2 separate regions of the Homo sapiens genome follow, and region 2 is linked to region 1. The links are contacts of gene promoters, found by promoter capture Hi-C in human tissues and cell types (Jung and others, 2019). All regions are on one chromosome and are shown on one strand. The core of a region is centred on a gene start or on the middle of the fragment in contact, and the rest is flanking DNA. Distances in the headings are between cores, read along the strand shown. Region 1 holds the start of MAPK4 (mitogen-activated protein kinase 4). Region 2 overlaps DCC (DCC netrin 1 receptor).

What was found. Contacts are between HindIII fragments. The study calls those that stand out against the background at their distance.
Region 2: a fragment that was not itself captured here is called in contact with the fragment with the promoter of MAPK4 in region 1 in 1 of the 25 tissues and cell types used here (lymphoblastoid cells).

What each region holds. Positions count from the first base shown.
Region 1 is chr18:50,558,160-50,562,081 of GRCh38, reverse strand. It overlaps MAPK4 (mitogen-activated protein kinase 4), which reads right to left and starts at 1,995. Exons shown (of 6, transcript NM_002747.4): 1 at 1,839-1,995. The HindIII fragment of the contact is 20,188 bases long and covers 1-3,922 here.
Region 2 is chr18:52,430,434-52,434,355 of GRCh38, reverse strand. The region is part of intron 1 of DCC (DCC netrin 1 receptor); the gene reads right to left. Among named protein-coding and RNA genes, the nearest start is that of DCC, 92 kb to the right of the region's middle. The HindIII fragment of the contact is 4,113 bases long and covers 64-3,922 here.

The DNA.
Region 1 (3,922 bases), core at 746-3,245:
TTGTCTAGAACTTCTGGATCAGATGATCCAAGGTTGCTTTGTTATTTAGTTTAAAGCACTGAGTATTCCCACAATAGCTGTTTAAGCACGGTATGACAGTAGCATTAAAAGGGAGGTGTCTTTTTGTCTGTCTCCAGCATGGATTCTCTGTCCCTTTGAGCATTAGGGCTTTGCCTTATTGCCCTTTGATTCCCTGTGATAACTCCATGGTGCTTTATGCAAAGAGGCTGACTTTTCTAATGCAAGGAAACTGAATTGGAAAGAGGTTCCAGAGCAAGCCTTTTTACTATTCAGCCCTGCTCCTGTCTGACAAACCCTCAAGCATAGAAGTGTACCCTCAAGTGTAGAAGACTAGCCCTTCATACACCACACAAGCGGTTTGGAAAGGTTAAAACGCAGGTCACTAAAGGAGTTGAAGACTCGAGGTTCAGAAGATATTATATTTTCTCTCCCTTGTTTCTATCCGTACCCCAAAAGTACACTGGGCAACCCTTCAGCAAAAAAGCCTTTAGTATTTAGTAGGTGCTCAGTAAATACATATTACAATAAGGTCATAGCATAGCTATCTTGAACATAGTAGGTACTCAATAAATATCTGTTACATTGAGAACGTCATGACGCTTCACCTTCGCACGGGGTAGGTGCTCAATACATATCCATTCAATTGAAAAGTCTGCAGTATACCTGCTTTTCACATAGTAGGTGCTCAATAAGTATATTTTACATTAAGGTTATTTAAGATAGCTGCCTTGCACACAGTAACCTCCCAGTAAATGGCTACTGAGCAGTTGTGGACACTCCTCAACCCAGGCAGGGGTGACATTAATCAACCCCCAGGCACAGATCCATGAATGGAAATGCACGTCTCGAGGTAGTGCTTTCGAGAGTGCTGGAGAGGCGCGTGACAGTACGCGGCCGCTGCGCTCTGTCGGGACGCTGCTGACCCACTGCTGGCTCCAGGGTATCGATTAGCGATCGGAATCCATTCCCCACCCAGGGGCGGGAAACAGCCGCCGCCTCCAATGGTCATTTCGGGGACGCACCTGGAACTCCCGCCACAGCCCCCTCCCGGGGCATCCGCCCACCCCGGCTTCACCTACGATTCCGTAGAGTAGCTGGCAGAACAAAAGCAAAAGCCGGCCTGACTTCCGATTGCTTTCCTGATAGAGAGCAACCCGGGAGGAGGCTCAGGGAGCCGGCCCGGGACCCAGCTGGGATGTCAAACCCGAGCCGCTGCCCTCTCCGGCAGGCTGGGGCTCTGGGTCGCCCAGCGGCGAAAGCGGCGGGGTCCCCCCACTCCCCCTCTCCCAGGGGCTACCTACCGCCAGTGTAGGCGCCTCTGTCGGGTGGCGAGGGGAGAGGACGCTGTATTAACCCTTCAACGAGAAAGGGAGAGGCTGGAGGGGAGGATAATCGGGACTGCGATCCGAATCTGAACTCGCAGTGTGAACTGCCCCTCGGCGACCCCAAGCGCTCCGGACTGTCCCCGGGGGTGGGGTCCCCTAGCGGCGCCCGGCCCCTGCGTCCTCCTCCCCTAAACACAACGCGAGGAGCCCAGCGGCAACCTCCCATCCCAAACGGGTCCAGGACAGCACCGGCGCGCGGTCTGCAGGCGAGGAGCTCACCCAGGGCAGCCGGGCGGGTCCCGCGGGAGACCCCCGCCGCTCGGAAACTCGCTAGTTTGGCAGTGGCTTGGCCTGGGGGGCTTATTGTTAGGGTAAGGTGGGGAGGCAGTGCGGGCGGGGAAGTCTCATCTCTTCCCCGCTTCTCCGGAGCCCGCCGAACTCCGAGAGGCGCAGGCGGCGGGAGGAGAAAGCCAGCGGAGGGGAGCCACTTACCGAGGCAGAGCCCGAGAGCGTGGCGGCCCGGGCGCGAGCCGCCCTTTGTCTGCGGCCGCGGCGCCGGCGCGCTCGGCCAGGCCGGTCCCAGCCACGGCGCACGGCGAGCTCCCGCGGTCGCCCCGACAGCCCGGCTCGCTGCTCCAGCTCGGGCTCCGGCTCCCGCCCCGGCCCCGGCCCCAGCCTGCGCCGCCGCCGCCTCGGCTCCGCCCAGAGCCGGGCCCCGCCCCCGCCCACTGGGCCCCCACCTGCTGCGGCGGTGGCGCTGGGGAGCCGGGCCCTGGGCGCCCGGGGGCGGCAGTCTCCCGCGCGCCCTGCTCTGCCCTCCCGCAGCCTCCAGGCCGCTCAGCCGCGCGGTCCTGGGGCCTTCCCGGACCCAGTCCCGCGGAGACGAGCTCACCTGGGGAGCCGAGCCCCGTCCCGGGTAGCCTGGCCTTCCCGGGGCACACGCGGTAGAGCTCCAGTCACTCAGAAGCCCTTCCTCACGCCCGCCGTGGGTGGGGGATCCTCGGGCTCCGTCCGGGAGGGAGGGGGCGCCGAGAAGGCGGGAAGCGGGGATCTGCCTGAGCCCGGTCGCCGCCCCGCCAGCCCCGCGCGGCTGCAGCCGCCGGGGGCCCGGTGGGAGGGTGGGTGGGGAGAAGGAGCCGGCGGGGACCGGTGGGCTCTGGAACCGGGGAGACCCGCGCGCGCGGGAAGGGGCACTGGGCCGAGGGTCGAGGGGGCGCGGAGCCCAAGTGCACCGGTCCCCAGCCGGCCTGGGATTCCGAGCGGGCCGCCTGGGCTGTGAATCTGTGCTCATTGGCATGACCGGAATAAAACTAACAAAAGAGAACCAACACTTTGGGATCCAGAGGAAAGGGACAGAAGAAGCCACTGGACCCTAACACTGGTAATAACTGGTGCTTCTGTGGTGCCTTCAGCGAGCCCAGAGCTGTGGGCACCGATGAGGGTCGTCACTGAACGCGGTGCGTCCCGTTGGAATGGTTGAGGCGCTGCTTTTCTAGGCATAGAAAAGTCTGATAACCTAAATATTGCATAATGAGGTCACTGGTGGCTTTAGCTGCCCATGAGCCTTCTCCTCTCCCAACTCCCAAAGCCTTCCGAGTGAGACCTGCGTTTTGGCACTTTCATAGGGTCTGCTGTGTACTGCAGTTATTCCCGCTTCGTCCCCCACCTCTACCCCCAGACCCTAATACAATTCCAGACGCTTAATAATTGTTGCAAGAATTCGCTGTCGAATTTTAGCGTGGGCAAAACATAAAAATGAAGGATTGTGGGATCATATTGGAAAATGCACTAAGGGTTTGCACAGTGATGGTGGTATGAAGGGTAATGAGTGTTGGCTGCCATTAGTACATAGTTGCGCTGCGACTCCTATGTGTGCAGGTAGTAGGTTTAGGATGATATGCTAAGTTAGAGACTGCAGTTATCAGGACCTTCATTAACCTCAGAGAATAGTTAGGGATAAGGAAGGAGTGTGTAACAAGCGAGTGTGTGTATATCTGTGGTAAGACATTCCAATGTGTCTTCCCCAAAGAGAACATTTTAACATTTTGCTTCCTTGATTTTCATTACAAGTAGTATCAATTCAGCAAGTAGGCATAAATATGAAATGTTTTGTGTTGATTTATTCATTTTTATAACATCTCTTCTATGAAGGAAGAATAAGAGGCCCCAAGGCTGCTCATTTAATCCAAAAGAAACAGAAGGGCAAATGTCCCGCCACTTTAAGCCCACTAACTGCAAAGTGAGGATCTGGCGAGTCCGAATGAAGAGACTGACCCCCATCAACACCTGGAAAGCTCAGAGTCCCCCTCCAGCGTGTTTTTGTTTTTTTTTTTTAATCTGTTTATCTTAGGTCTGGAAGCTGCTCTTGAGAGCAATGTGCTTGTCCACGTGAGATAATTTATCTCTTCCATTTGGCAACTGGGAAAATGTAATTTTCTCTGTGTGATGAGCATGAGTGAGTGGTTCATACATAGTGAATGGCCATCCTCCAAATCGCGGGACAAGAGACTGTGAAATATGCATGTTTAATATCAGTGCCCATTACCGTACGATGGCAGGGGAATGAACAGGAAGCG
Region 2 (3,922 bases), core at 871-3,370, 1.9 Mb before region 1:
GTGTTGTAAGATGTTTAGTAGCATGTTTGGTCTCTATCCATGATATGCCAGAAGCAACCCCTAGTTGTGGTGACCAAAAATATCTCTAGACATTGCCAAATGTACCCAGGAAAGCAAAATTTTTCTCTTTACACCAGTGGTGTAAAGTATATCTAATTATAGCCAGCTAACTACATAGGTAAATCCAAGGATTACAGTTTTAGAGAAATAAACACTTTTATGCATTGATTACAATATGGATTACATAACTATTCAACCCCTTCTAAGGATTTTTGAATATTCTCTGATTATGCAAGAAAGCCTGCTAATCAATAATTGAAATGGCTTTACACCACACATTTGATTAGGAACTACTGCTTACATGGCACTTTTTTCCCTTGGACCTACATGTGTGATTTTTTTAACCACCATGGTCTTATGACTGACATTCTTAGGTTCAACTCTTATGGTCTATATCACAGGGAAACCAGACAACACTTGAGTCTCTGCATGTAATTATTATTAAAAGATGAATCCTAAAATTTGCAAGAAACCTACTTGATTCATAGTGTTGAATAAGACAAAAATAGGACTTCCCATGTATAAAAGCGTTAATTATTATTGATAACAAAATGAAATAATCAGATTTAAAAAGGGGAATCCAGAGTTACATTTAAAGAATAGATTACCAATAACCTCTTGATGTATACTACAATATCTTTATAACTTTGTTTTTTCATCAACTACAACAAATACATACTTCTAATGTAAGTGTTAGAATTCATACATGGTTCCCATTATGTGTTTCTGTCATGATGACTAACCAATTTTTAGTGTATATAAAAAACAATTCATTATTTGCCAAATTGTTGTGTATTGCAAGAGGTACAAAATTGGACTTGATGTATTATAAAGAGCACTGAATTAGCTCAAAACTCTAGTCCCAGAATATACTGATCTTTGAGCCTTCATTACCTCATCTGTAATATAGCACTAATAATAACCATTCTGTCTTTCTCACCCAAATGATATTCAAATGAACGAATGGATATGAAAGCAATGTGAGTACTGTAAACAAATATAAATTAATAAATTCAAACATGATTTTGAAATTGAAACCCCTTCCACCCAAAGTTTTCAATGAACACAAGTGGGTTTAATTTTAAAATATTACTGATCGCAAATTAACCCTAATTAATAGATTTTCTATTTAGTTTCCTAAATATACAGCTCTCAAATACCTGGTTAAATAATTTCAGGGATATTAAAAATGAATATAATGCTCACATCATCCATAAACTTCATTAACAAGAATAATCTCATTTGATGTTCTAATAAAGATTAGTAAAAAATAAATAAATTTGTGACACTCTTCAGATTCTTTGTTGTTTTATTTATTTGCTTATGTCCCCATGAAAGGCCAGATGTTAGAGTGCAGAGGGAAACTGAAAGATGGAAGCACAGGACAGAATTACCGTTTGCCAATTTCCCTCTATCAACTCTCCAGAGAAGGCAATATCTGGGCCAGTATAAGCCACAGGTGAGCTCAGGCGGCACTCCTGCACACTGCAGGCTTCAAGATAAATCCACTCGTAGTACTCAGTTTAGGCTATGTAGCTTAAACATAAAAGAGTGATAGTGTATTTAATCGCAATGTCCATAAGTGATTATCAAGTATTAAACTCCTTTCAAGTTTGACTTGTATTTATCCGCAGCCAATTCTCCTTGAATTAAAGAACCATTTATGCAAATGCAACATGAAGCAAAGGAGAGAGATAAAGAGCTGCCTAAGACCTCATAAATGATGACATTCATCCTGTCTGATATTATTTGTTTTTCTTTAATAAAATTATATTATACACTGTCAAAAGAACCACTCCCTTGCACGAAGAGCAACAGAGGGTGCTTAGGCAAAAATTAGATGTGAGAAGCAGGAGGGACATTCCTTTATTTGGTCCCTCTTGAACATAAAAGGAATATAACATACATCAAATCAGAATAAGAAGAGCACATCAAAGAAGCTACCAATCCGCCGCTGAGCTGCAAATGTCCTCGTACATCAAAGGAGACCCAAGTCAGCAGGAAAAACCTCCAGTTTCAGTAGCCAGACCTGAGACCTGAGCCTCTCCACTCCTGATCATGAGAGCCATGCATTATTAAATAACCAACAAGACACGTGCAACACGGTGGAGATAAGCAGTGGTCAATGAAACCCAGGGAGCTAGTGATGAGGGGCGACAAAAAGGAGCAGCAGTGATTTCAAAGCTTGAACAAGACCAAAAAATATATAAAAGCCATCAGGGAAAGAAGATAAAAGTGGCAAACAGTGCAGCAAAGTGTGTGCTAGAGATAAAATAGGAGGAAGAAGAATCAGCAGAGGGAGTTCTGACATTTCCGATGCTTTACTGAAATGCTCTTGGGTTTCAAAGGTGTCAGAGTCTGAGGGATGATTTCTCTAGTTGAGCTCCAAGGGATCATCAGGCGAGATGGATGGAGGGCCTGAAAGCCATCCCCTTCAGAGAGAATGGGCAGTGCAAGATGAATCAAATGGGGCTTGACATTTCTGTTACATGAAGCTTATTGGTGAGACACTTGATAAGTGGTGATTATGCCTCGTGAAAAAAGGCTAGTGTCTCTGGAACATTTGTGGCCTCGGAATTTAGGATGCATGGCCAGGCTGAGTGGAGCTACGACCCTTCACTGTACTTGTTGCAGGGGTGTTCACTGAGCATTTCATCTGGCATTGGAACCATAAACAGCCAAGCCCATCTAATTCTTCAAAAGCACAACATATTATTTACCTTTAAGACGAACAATACTTTTTTCTTTTTCTTCATTTTTTTCTTCTTCTTTTGAGAACACAGAAAATCCACAGAATTTTTCCCCTTTTGAATATGCTACACTTAGCACAGTCCGTGGCACTAATTGGATTCTCGACAAATATATGTTGTATTGAAAGGGATAGGAGCCTAACTATTACACCCCCAAGGAATGTTCATTCACTTATTCAAAGAGAAAGTGAATGCTGATCTTTTTTTTTCTAAATGTTCTCTTCTTTCTTTATTATTATTGCTTTTCTTATTTTTTTTCATCAATCTTTACCTCCGGGACTAGAGCAGTGATTCACAAATGTAGCAAGCCTCCAAATCACCTAGAGGACTTGTAAAAGTGCAGCTTGCTGGGTCCCAACTCCAGCATTCTTGATTCAGTATATTTGGGTGAGTGTCCAAGGATTTACATTTCTAACAAGTTCTCTGGTGATGATGGTACTGCTGGTCCAAGAACCACACTTTGAGGATCACTGTGAAGGGTATTAAGGGCAAGTGGAAGTACCTTTCCATATGTGTCCATCTTTTGATGGGCTAATCCCTCCAGTTTTGTGGGGTGAACCTAAACCACTCATTCTGAGAAGCCAAAAATAAAGAGTTTGTAAATTCCTCTAAAAGGTTTGGGCATTAAAAGAGGATCAAGAAGTTTTATAGACAGTAATTTAAAGTGTCTAGTGAAAGCAATCATGCTTTTAGGTGCTGCCTGGAATTTTCTTAGTTAAAAAAATTATTTGAGAGTGTTTTCTCCATCCCTGAATTCACTATGTGCATTATTTCAGCATTTATTTCTTCCTAAACAACTGTGTTTCACTTCAATAGGAAATTCCCTATTGGAAATGCCATATAACTAGTACACTACAAACATAAACTGGCTTATTCCACAGCGGTTTTGCACAGCTCCTCTTTGTCATTTGTATGTATGTAAGAAATGAGAATTAATGAGTATTTTTACTATCATCCTCCATAGATTCCTACCACAAACCCAAAGCACCCCAGCACATTCATCATCTACCAGGCTCATCACTGTCCCAAGCTTTCCCTTCCCTAGCAAACAGAATCATCTGCTACTTGGCTGCCTTAGGCAAGAACCTCCGAGTCACACTTGACTCTTCCTT